Linked DNA regions of Homo sapiens: region 1 is linked to region 2. Evidence: promoter capture Hi-C in 16 types of primary human blood cells and fetal thymus (Javierre and others, 2016). All regions are on one chromosome and are shown on one strand. Each heading gives the region's core, a stretch centred on a gene start or on the middle of the fragment in contact. The rest is flanking DNA. Distances are from core to core; before and after follow the strand shown. Region 1 holds the start of FUT8 (fucosyltransferase 8). Region 2 holds the start of PALS1 (protein associated with LIN7 1, MAGUK p55 family member).

Region 1 (4,935 bases), core at 2,142-4,641, 1.8 Mb before region 2:
CCGAGGCTATATACAAGAAAACAATGCACTGACAAGGCCCTGTTACTTGTTGTATAACAGATCATAACGATTGTTCTGTCTAATCTTTTGTTGAACAGAACTTGTCTTTAACTTTTGGGATAAGCAAAGATGGGTCCAAAACCTAGTTTGGTGAGGGAGGGGTGGAGTAAGAGGTGGAGTACCTGTACTTACTTAAGCAACTATTACAAACTGGCAGTGATGAGCAGCAGAGGCAAGCAGTTGGGAGAAGAGAATGAGAGAGCGCAGCAACAGGGTGGGACCTGCAGCTTGTGGAAAAATGCTTTTGACACAGATACTTTCTGATGGCCAGTGATGTTTAGAACCTTTTGGGGGATTCCTTCTCTCTCAGAATTTAACCTGGCAAGAGAACGACTGAGTTCTAGGAATTTTCTTGTCTGGAGAGAGTAAAATAAATGTATTTTTTAAAAGCTGGGACTGTTATCCACACTGAGAAGAGGCAGGGTATAAAATTCCCTTTCATAAGTGAATTTCCTGGAAATTCATGATTGGCTTGGAACTTAATGTGTAAAGACTTGTTCTCAAATATCAGTTGTTTGACAGAGACCTCCAGTTTTGGGATGGCAGCTAAATCCTGAGCCTGCCTTGGAAAGGGTTTTGATAATAATGTTCCATCACAGGTGGAGAAGCACATTGATTCAACAAAGCAGACTTCAAAACCACTGAAGAATTAGTTTCTGAGTGTATTCAAGAGATACCAAAGTTATTTGTTATTTTAACGTATATTATACTGTTCTATACAAATGCACCAAATCCTGGGCAAAACATTCCTAGGACAGGTTTTTTTTTTTTTTTTTTTCAGTTGGAAGGAGGTAGGGAAAATAAGTGCTTTAATTCCTAGGATTTTGGAAGTAAAAATGGAACACCAGACAAAAATGGAATTTTTAGGCAAATGTAAAGCTTTGTACTTGGGTATCTCAAAGTATTATACAGTGTAAACTATCATGATTATTAACCAACTAGAAGTAGTTCTTTTTTTTAAATTTTATTTTTAATTTTAGACATGAGGGTCTTGCTATGTTGCCCAGGCTGAAGTGGCTACTGACAGGCACGATGTGGCACTGCAGCCTGGAACTCTTGGGCTTAAGTGATCCTTCCTGCTTCTTCTATCTTAAAAAAAAAAAGTTACGCTTGCTTGTTAAAATATTTTTAAAATGCTGTGTTTAAACTAAGAAGTAAATATCCACCCCACCTCTGACTTCTAAAAATTATCTAAAGTATGACTGGTAAGATTTTTACCTTTAATCCCACATAAGTCTAAAATTTGTGTTCATTTCCAACAACCAAAGTGTGTCACTTTTATACCAGAATTTTGTCCTGCTTATACGTTTAGTACAGAAATCTCATGGGAGAGAGCATCCATGCATTTACAAATTGTTATTGAATTATTTTATTGAATGATGACACCCAAACTGAGCTAGAACATAATTCTGGCTCTGCTAGTACATCTTCTGTGTGATCTTGGACAAGTCACTCTACTTTCCTTTCAATTTTCTTTTCTCACAGGGAGATAATCATAAAAACGACTGTAAAGTACAGCACTTCATAGAGTGCTTTTTGTTTAAAGAGCTGACAATAAATACGAGTCTCAAGGTCTAGGAAAGCCTCCCTCACAACCTGAGCTGCTTGAGGACAAGGGATTTTCTTTTGAATCAGCAGTACCTTATTTGTGTATCTGTGATAGAGTTCCTGGTACATAAGAAGGTCTCAATAAATATGTGAATTTATGAATATTAGGCAGATTGCAACCTTGACAGGCCACTGCCTCTTAAATCTCCTTTCTGTGATCTTTTAATATTTAACATCTAAAAGGCCGCCGCTACTTGCTTTGGGATAAGTATCCCCGGTATGTACTTTAAAATGCCCAAGCCTAGAGAAATGATTCTTGTCTTAAGGGCACCATTTCGCTCTCCCACCGTAAAGCGCCCCAGGCTTGGGATCTGGGTCCCAAGGCTACAGGGAAGAGTTTGGAACGGGAAGCTCATCTTCCGGCCCTCTGATTGGCCGGCTCGCACTCCACTCACGCGGCGCGCAGCTCTGATTGGCCTCGGCGGCACCCCTCGTCCCGCGACTACTTTGTGTGCTGGGGCGGCGCGCTCCGGTCCTCCCGCTCAGCTGGCGGTCTGGGCTGCTCTGGGGCAGCCCTTCGGTCCACTGCTCTGCATCGCGGGCGCCGGGAATTTTCCGAGTCCGAGCGGGTAGGACGCATCCTAGGGCAAAGCCTCTCCCCTCTCCCCGTGCTGTTCTCTTTCCCGTACTAAATAAACTTCCGCCTCAGAGGGGCTGTCGCAGCCGCGGGTCGGGAGAGGCCGGGCATCGAACTCAGGCCCTCGTGGGGGGGGTCTTTCTCTTCGAGTGAATGTGGAAACAGCTCTTACAAGATAAAGTAGGGCTTCGCTGAGTCTCCTGGGGGAGCGATGCCATTGTAGGATCGCGCTGGAAGCAGCAGTCAAGCGGCCAAATGCGGGCTGCAGGGGCTGAGCAGCAGCAGCGCGCACCCCTAAAAGTAGCAAGGAGCCAGCTTCAAAACCTCTAGTGCGGGTGCCCCCTAGGGCCGCCGACTGAGCTGGCACGGGCCGGTCCATTCCCGGCGCTGTAGGGAGCACAGCATTCTCTGGAGGCGAGTCTCCTCCCGGGATCCAGGATCCGCTCGCGCCCCGCTCAGCCTCCGGCCTTCAGGCGGTAGAGGGCGGCCTACGCCTGTGTGCGAGCCGGAGCCGGCGTGCGCAGCCGCTGCCCTGCTGGAACTGTGCCGTCCCGCTGTGGCCCGCGGCTCTGCTAGGCGGTGGATGCTGCTGCTACGCTCTCCACCGGCGCAGCGAGGAAGGGGGCGGGGAGAATCCCTGGCACATGCCAGGGTCGCCGTAGGTGGCAGCGGCCGGCGCATGCGCGCCCTCTCCCAGAAGCCAGGAACGCCGAGGGGCGCGCTCCCCCATTCGCGCGCGCACGCCGGCGCTGGCCGAGGCTTCCCCGCCTGCGCTCGTTGTCAGAGCCGCTCCGGCGCGTGCGCGCGTTATCTCCGGCCGACCCGAGCAGCCGGTTCCCTCCTCTCCAGGCCCCCTCCCCATCCCACCCCCGCCGCCTGGCCCCAGCCGACCCGTCCCTTCGTCTCCCCGCGGAATGGGGCCGGCACTGCTCAGGGTCGCGCGCCCTGGACCCAGCTCGCTCTCGGTCTCGCGCTGTCAGCGACTGCCCGGCTCGCGCCGCCTCGCGCTCTGCCTCAGTCAGTGGCGCCGAAGGCTCCGTTAAGCGGCGGCGGCGGTTCCTGTTTCCGTTTCTTCCTCTCCGTTCGGTCGGGAGTAGCATCCTCCACTCAGCCACCCTTCCCACTCCCCCATCGTGGGGCAGCTGCGGCTGAGGGCTGTGGCTTTGGCAGCTGCGACGGGGAGCGGCGGAGACCGCCTCTGCTCCCGCCTGGGGTAAGGGGGCGTTTTGGGAGCCGGGCCCCGCGCGCCTCGGGGTCTTGGGCTGGGCTGCGCGCGGGATCTGAGGAGGCTCCGCGGCTGTCCCTGCTCGTTCACCCGGGCCTGTTGCTGCAACTGCTGCCGGTTAACCAGCGGCTCTCGGAAAAGTGGGGAGGGAGCCCCCGGGACGCTCTGGCGGATGCCTTGGCGCAGCCCCGGGGGCGCGGGCAGAGGGTGAGGGGCGCCCGCCTCTCCAGCCGGGACGCGGAGCTGCGCCGCTGCTGCCCTCGGCGTCGCGCATCCTTGCCTAGGGCAGGGGCCAAAGCCTAGGGAAGGAGAAGGGTTGGGGGCGGGGGTGGGAGGTGTCCGTCGTTTCCCCTCCACACCTACCTTCCCTTCGTCAGCAGCTCGGTCCCTGGAGTCGCGGTTTGTGGGGAGGAAGATGCCCGTGCGTTATGGGCTCTTTCTGAGTGCTGCTCGGGCTAGAAAGCAGGGAGTGGACCCTCACAAAGATCCGCGAGGGACTGATGCAGGGCAGTTAAAGGCTTGAGTGCAGCTGTACTCCCTTTTGATGTGCAAATGACGAGCTGGCGGCTTTTGAGTATCAACTTATTTGGGAAGGTTAAATGAGTCCATATTTATCAGTTCTAGGAGGTTTGTCCTGCAGGATTGAGTGGGTTGTCGGGTGCAGCACCTGTTCTTTCTTCACAGTGGGGATTGCAATCTTCAGAGACGCAGTGTATTTCTTAAGTGGCAGTGTCATGCTTAGGGTTTGTCCCGGATGAGCTTTTATTTTAGCATTTTGCCATATAATATATAGATTGAGGCCTTGGTTAAAGGCACGGACAGGTGGTGTTTTTTTCCTTCCTATGTTTTAATTATTCACAGTTTATTTAAACCCACTCAGGAAGGTGGACCCAGAAAAGCCAAATTCTGTAGTACATAACCCCAAATTTCAAGGTTTTGCGGAACAAATTCAACACAAGTTTTGTGTCAGTTTAGAGTTAAACGCATCTCAAGTAACTGACTTAACTGGCTTGCCTCTATGAAAACTGTAGGCAGGTTTCATTATAGATTTTTTTTTTCTTGTTATTCCGGCGGTTAGGTGCATGTTTATTTTCTTGATTAAATTTACATTCTATGTTTTATGACTAATTCTTTAAATAGGTGCATCATATAGAAAGTATTTTAGGAGAGAAATTATTATTTAAGCACTACAGTATATCAGATATATGAGAAATAATGGAGTTGTAGTCTCTGCTCTTTAAAATAACTGTAAAAACATCTTAAAACCCTATGCCAAATAATAAGGCCCTGTACCTTGCTGTCCTTGTGAAATCTGGTATGTGTATAGAAAATCTTAATTACTTGATTTGTAAATACTACAGTAGTATTGAAAAGGTGGGAATTCAAGCATTTGTAATTGTGATTTCACAGGTTTAGTGTGTAAAAAATGCAGGGAGTTAGAGATGAATAGGCTATAAGACACGTA
Region 2 (4,836 bases), core at 532-3,031:
AAGACCAGCTTGGCCAATGTGGCGAAACCCCGTCTCTACTAACAATACAAAAATTAGCCGGGCGTGGTGGCTGGCACCTGTAATCCCAGATACTGGGGAGGCTGAGGGAGGAGTATCGCTTGAACCCGGGGAGCGGAGGTTGCAGTGAGCCGAGATTGCGCCACTTTACTCCAGCCTGGGCAAAAGAGCGAAACTCCGTCTCAAACAAAAACAAAAACAAAAGAACTTAGAAAAGGAAGTAAGTCACACACAGTAACCGTTTTTTCTTTTGGGGTATGGCTAGTAGTTTCTAGGAATCCTGGAGACTTTATCTGGATTTCAGTTAGGCATTTCACCAGTTCTCATGGCATCTTTATGGAGGAATATGGGCCAAGAAGACAGTTCGGTTGTGTCGTCCACCTGTATTCGAAGCCTACTGAGAAATTTTTGATGGCAGGAGCATTAAGGTCTTTAGTGGCATGCAGCAGAGTTCTGTCCTCCGCTCTGTCTTATTAAACACTTGGACAGAATGCTGATCAGATTTGAGAAGGATAACAAATCTGGGAAGGGTAGGCATCCCCAAAGATCTTCACCACCAGGAACAACGGTTTGCTTCGTTCAGGCCATCACAGTGTCCTTAGTGAGGGACACCACAACCCATAGGCTGTCCAGAGGAGCGTAATGGGGAAGAATGTGAAAGAGCTTGAAAATCAGGACCTGAGGACATTGCGAGATGGAAAAACACCGTGGGACAAAATGAGGAAAACCGAGAGAAATGGAAATGGCATATACGAAGGCTTTGAGGGAGGACTGTGCCCCTGGGGGAAACTGTGCCCCCGGGCTGGAGTCACAGGCATAGTTTGGCCTCATAGAAGGAGAGGTCGATTAACAAACCTTGCAAGTGTTCAAATGTGGAATGGGCTTGCTCGGAAGGTACTGTCAAGACAGAGACCATCCGAGGGCTTTTATTGCAAGTGTCGAGACACATTGCTGGTGTTTCTCCTTAGAACGTCCTCCAATCTGCTCTGACTTCCGCCCGCACCCGCCTGAGTCCTGCCCCATTCCAAGGGTGGCACATCCAGGTCCCGAGGGCGCCAGCCATGCCCGGAGCACGGGCTGATCTGCGTAACTCTGTCCCTTCGGGAGACTTCTGGGAAATAGTTCTAGTCCTTGCTATCCTTGCTTTCTGGTTTTCAGAAATCAGTGCAGCTGCTGGCTTTATGCAGTCTTCTGCGGGACACTGCACACATCCAGGTGTTTATGTCATTTTTTAAAAAAAACAAATGTTAGATTGGGTGACTAACTTGACAGGACATGAGGAATCTCTTCAAGAGGAATCAGATTTTCTTCAGGATACGTCATCCAGAGACAAGAGCCAAGGGATGTAGAAACCCAGGGAAGCCTCGCGTCCCCACAAAGCCCGCCGGCCAAATCCCGAAGGGGCTCTACCGGGCCAGCTAGCCCGGAGCAGTCCGCGTTTTAGACTTAGAGGCGCGCGACTGCGCGCACCCGGCTGGAGCTGCGGAGAGGACCAATGAGCGGGCGCTCTCTCCGCTCCGGCTCGGGATTGGGCAAGCCGCGCCAGCCTCTCACGGGCGGGGTGGGACTCGGATCCGCGCGCCCACTGCGCCAGAGTCCCGGGGGCGCGTGCGCGGTCTCGCGGCGGCCGCAGGGGCCGGTCTCGCGCGGTCTAGAAGTGGAGTTGCTGGCGGCTGCGGCGGTGACGGCGGCGACGGAGGAGGCAGGCGGTGGGGCGGGGGCGGGGACTAAGGATTCTGAGGTGGGGAGTCGGGAGTTTCTGGATTCTTTATCCGGAATTTCAAGGGCCGCCGGAGGGCTGTCGCTTCTGCAGTGCGTAGGAGCGGCCGGGGCGGGAGGCTCCGCGGAGCCGAGGCGTGGAGGTAAGAGGCGGATCGGCGGCGGCTGGGCTGTAGAGATCTTAATCAACAGGTCCCTGGGAGCGCGGCGGGGGAGGGGCGGGCGGCCGGGCTCCCCTTCCCCCACACGCTGCGCAAACTCCGGCCAGCGGGAGACCCCTGGCAGCCAGGCGGGCTTCCTCAGGCGCGCGAGCTGCGGCCGTGGAGGGTGTGAGCCCAACCTTTGTCCCTCGGAGCAACGCTGCCTGCGCGGTGCCCGCTCCTTCTGCTTGGCTGGGCATGCACCTTGGCGCGGGCCACAGCCAGCCGAGCCCGAGGTGCAGGGGGCGCGGCGGGGAGTCGTCTGCCCCCTGCGCCCTCTCTCCGAGGTCGCGACGCGCGGGACTCTCCCGGCCGGGTCTGGGAAATCGGCGAGGGAACGCTTTCCTTTAGAAGTCAGAATGTAGTCAGCGTTCCTCTGCCTGACTCAGCTGCTGGTATTCTGCTGCTCATTGCGTTCTTAAACACGCAAACAGTTCCTGCTTCCTTGTGACCACTTTAAAAGAAAAGCCTAGTTTTGTTCATGGTTTCTGATACTTTAAGGTTGCACGTTGAACTTTGAAGCATGTAAATTGTTATAACCTACGTTTAATGAAGTTTGCTTTAAACGATCTTTGTAGTAAATTATGTAACTTTCTAATGATCATAACTCACCTTCTGTTGATTGACATACAGTAATGTGTACGGAATGTAGGTTTCGGTCAAAAGGTTTTTCTTGGCAGTTTATGCTAAAATTAAAATCTGATGGCTAGGAAGTTTTTAGATGTAGTATGGAGTGTGTGTTTTGTCTCCATACTCGTTTAGAATAGTAAGAATTTAGATTTGGAAAGTCAGTTGAACAAAAATTTTGAAATTTTGATTTGACTGACGCAGTGAAAGGTGTTAATATTTCTGATTTTTTAAAAAAGCAATATCATGTTTTAATGATAGTTTACTAATTATGCTTTTGGATTATACCAGAAGTTAATAACCTGTTAAATTATGCAATAGGAACAAATGACGTGTTGGTTATTGGTGTCTTTGAAGTATTGGTGGTAATGAAACTTATTAAATAAGCTTCCTTGAATTAAGAACTACGATTTTTTTTTTTTACTAGATCCCTGTGGACATAGCTATTGTGGATAGGTTTTATAGGCTTTCTATTTGCGGCAGGATGAGCTATTAAATTATAATGTAAGAGATTTATAGATAAAACAGGCAAAAATAGGAAAAGCAATTCATTATTTTATCTTTAAAAATCTGGTAAATTTTACCATGTACCTGAATTAGTTTTGGCAAGACGGACTTGAACTTGACAAATTAAGGTGGATTGATTAACATTAATTTGTTTTAGAATGTTAAAACGGGAGAGAATATATAAGTTCTACTTGAGGGTGACCCAAGTCAGTACAGTGGGTTTAGCTTTTACATGATCTTGAATTATGATTTTGATTAAAAATCTCATCACAGGGGCACGTGTTTTCAGGATCTCCTGAGGGCTGTGTCATGGAAAAAATAAAATTTATCACCCATTCCAAGAAATTTGATCAATTTTATATATTATTTACTGAAATGCCCTATTTCTCTGATATTTTCTGATTTCAGAGTGTCTAGAAAAAAATAGTATCTTGACATATGTGCTTATATAGAATATAATTGTCTTTTCTTTTTTTTTTTGTGAGACATAGTCTCGCTCTTGCCCAGGCTGGAGTGTAGTGGCGCGATCTTGGCTCACTGCAGTCTCCACCTCCCTGGTTCAAGTGATTCTCCTGCTCTCAGCCTCCCGACTAGCTGGGACTACAGGTGCTCGCCACCACACCTGGCTAATTTTTGTATTTTTAGTAGAGACGGGGTTTCACCATGTTGGCCAGGCTGGCCTCGAACTCCTGACCTCAGGTGATCCACCCGCCTCGGCCTCCTGAAATGCTGGGATTACAGGCGTGAGCCACCGCCAGAATATAATTTTTTTTTTTTTTTTTTTTTGAGACGGAGTCTCGCGCTGTCGCCCAGGCTGGAGTGCAGTGGCGCAATCTCGGCTCACTGCAAGCTCTGCCTCCCGGGTTCACGCCATTTTTCTGCCTCAGCCTCCCGAGTAGTTGGGACTACAGGTGCCCGCCACCACGCCTGCTAATTTTTTGTATTTTTTTTTTAGTAGAGACGGGTTTTCACCGTGTTAGCCAGGATGATCTCAATCTCCTGACCTCGTGATCCGCCCGCCTCGCCCTCCCAAAGTGCTGGGATTACAGGCGTGAGCCACCGCGCCCAGCCCTTATGATTTTTGATCATATACTTACTGAATCATAGGATCGTTGAGTTGGAAGTAATCTTAGTGGTTATATAGTCTAACCTCTTCATTTTCCATGAAAAAGAAAGTGAGGCTTGCAGGAGTTAAGTAATCCGTAGTCTGACTGCTAGTTAGGGGCAGACTTGGAACTACATGAATGCTAAAATGCTGTTCTCCATATTCTAAGTCTCCATATTCTAAATTCAGTGCTCTTCTCAGGATGTCTCATTGTTAGATAAACCAATAAGTTGCCTTTTCCAAATCACTTAACTGGCAGGATTCTTTCTGTCATGGATTTTTTCCGTTTTCTTTTTTAATAACTACTAACTGCAATTCATTCCCCTACTGAAGAATTTTCAGTTTTTTAATATTTCAAACAATGTTTAATGAATATCTTTGTGTATGTCTCCTTGAGCGCATGTGTGGACGCTTTCCTAGAATGTATGTATACCTACCTATAAGTGGAATTGCTGATAATAGGTTGATATGTGTTTTCAACATTACTAGCTACAGCCAAATTACCCTTTTTAATGCTGTAATCATTTACATTCCTGCAAACAGTATGAGTGACAGTGGCTTCACATTCTTGCCCACACTGGGCATCGTAAGATTTTAAAATTTTTGCTAATCTGGTGGATGAGAAATGATATAATTGCTTCTTTTCTTTAAAAAATATTT

Evidence for each region. The method cuts DNA at HindIII sites, captures the fragments that hold promoters and counts their contacts. A CHiCAGO score of 5 or more calls a contact.
Region 1: a fragment that was not itself captured here is called in contact with the fragment with the promoter of PALS1 in region 2 in 2 of 17 cell types (naive CD4 T cells and M0 macrophages); the score reaches 7.0 in naive CD4 T cells.

Annotation. Positions count from the first base shown.
Region 1 is chr14:65,409,757-65,414,691 of GRCh38, forward strand. FUT8 (fucosyltransferase 8) reads left to right here and starts at 2,974. Exons shown (of 11, transcript NM_001371533.1): 1 at 2,974-3,458. FUT8-AS1 (FUT8 antisense RNA 1) reads right to left here and starts at 2,861. Exons shown (of 1, transcript NR_024334.1): 1 at 836-2,861. RefSeq lists enhancers at 2,153-2,472, 3,715-4,279 and silencers at 3,013-3,172, 3,473-3,592, 3,603-3,792. The HindIII fragment of the contact is 4,909 bases long and covers 938-4,935 here.
Region 2 is chr14:67,239,654-67,244,489 of GRCh38, forward strand. It overlaps PALS1 (protein associated with LIN7 1, MAGUK p55 family member), which reads left to right and starts at 1,782. Exons shown (of 15, transcript NM_022474.4): 1 at 1,782-1,880. It overlaps LOC124903330 (a long non-coding RNA gene), which reads right to left and starts at 1,756. Exons shown (of 2, transcript XR_007064217.1): 1 at 1-1,756. It also overlaps a transcript of GPHN not described here. RefSeq lists an enhancer at 1,134-1,413 and a silencer at 1,394-2,363. The HindIII fragment of the contact is 3,073 bases long and covers 1-2,949 here.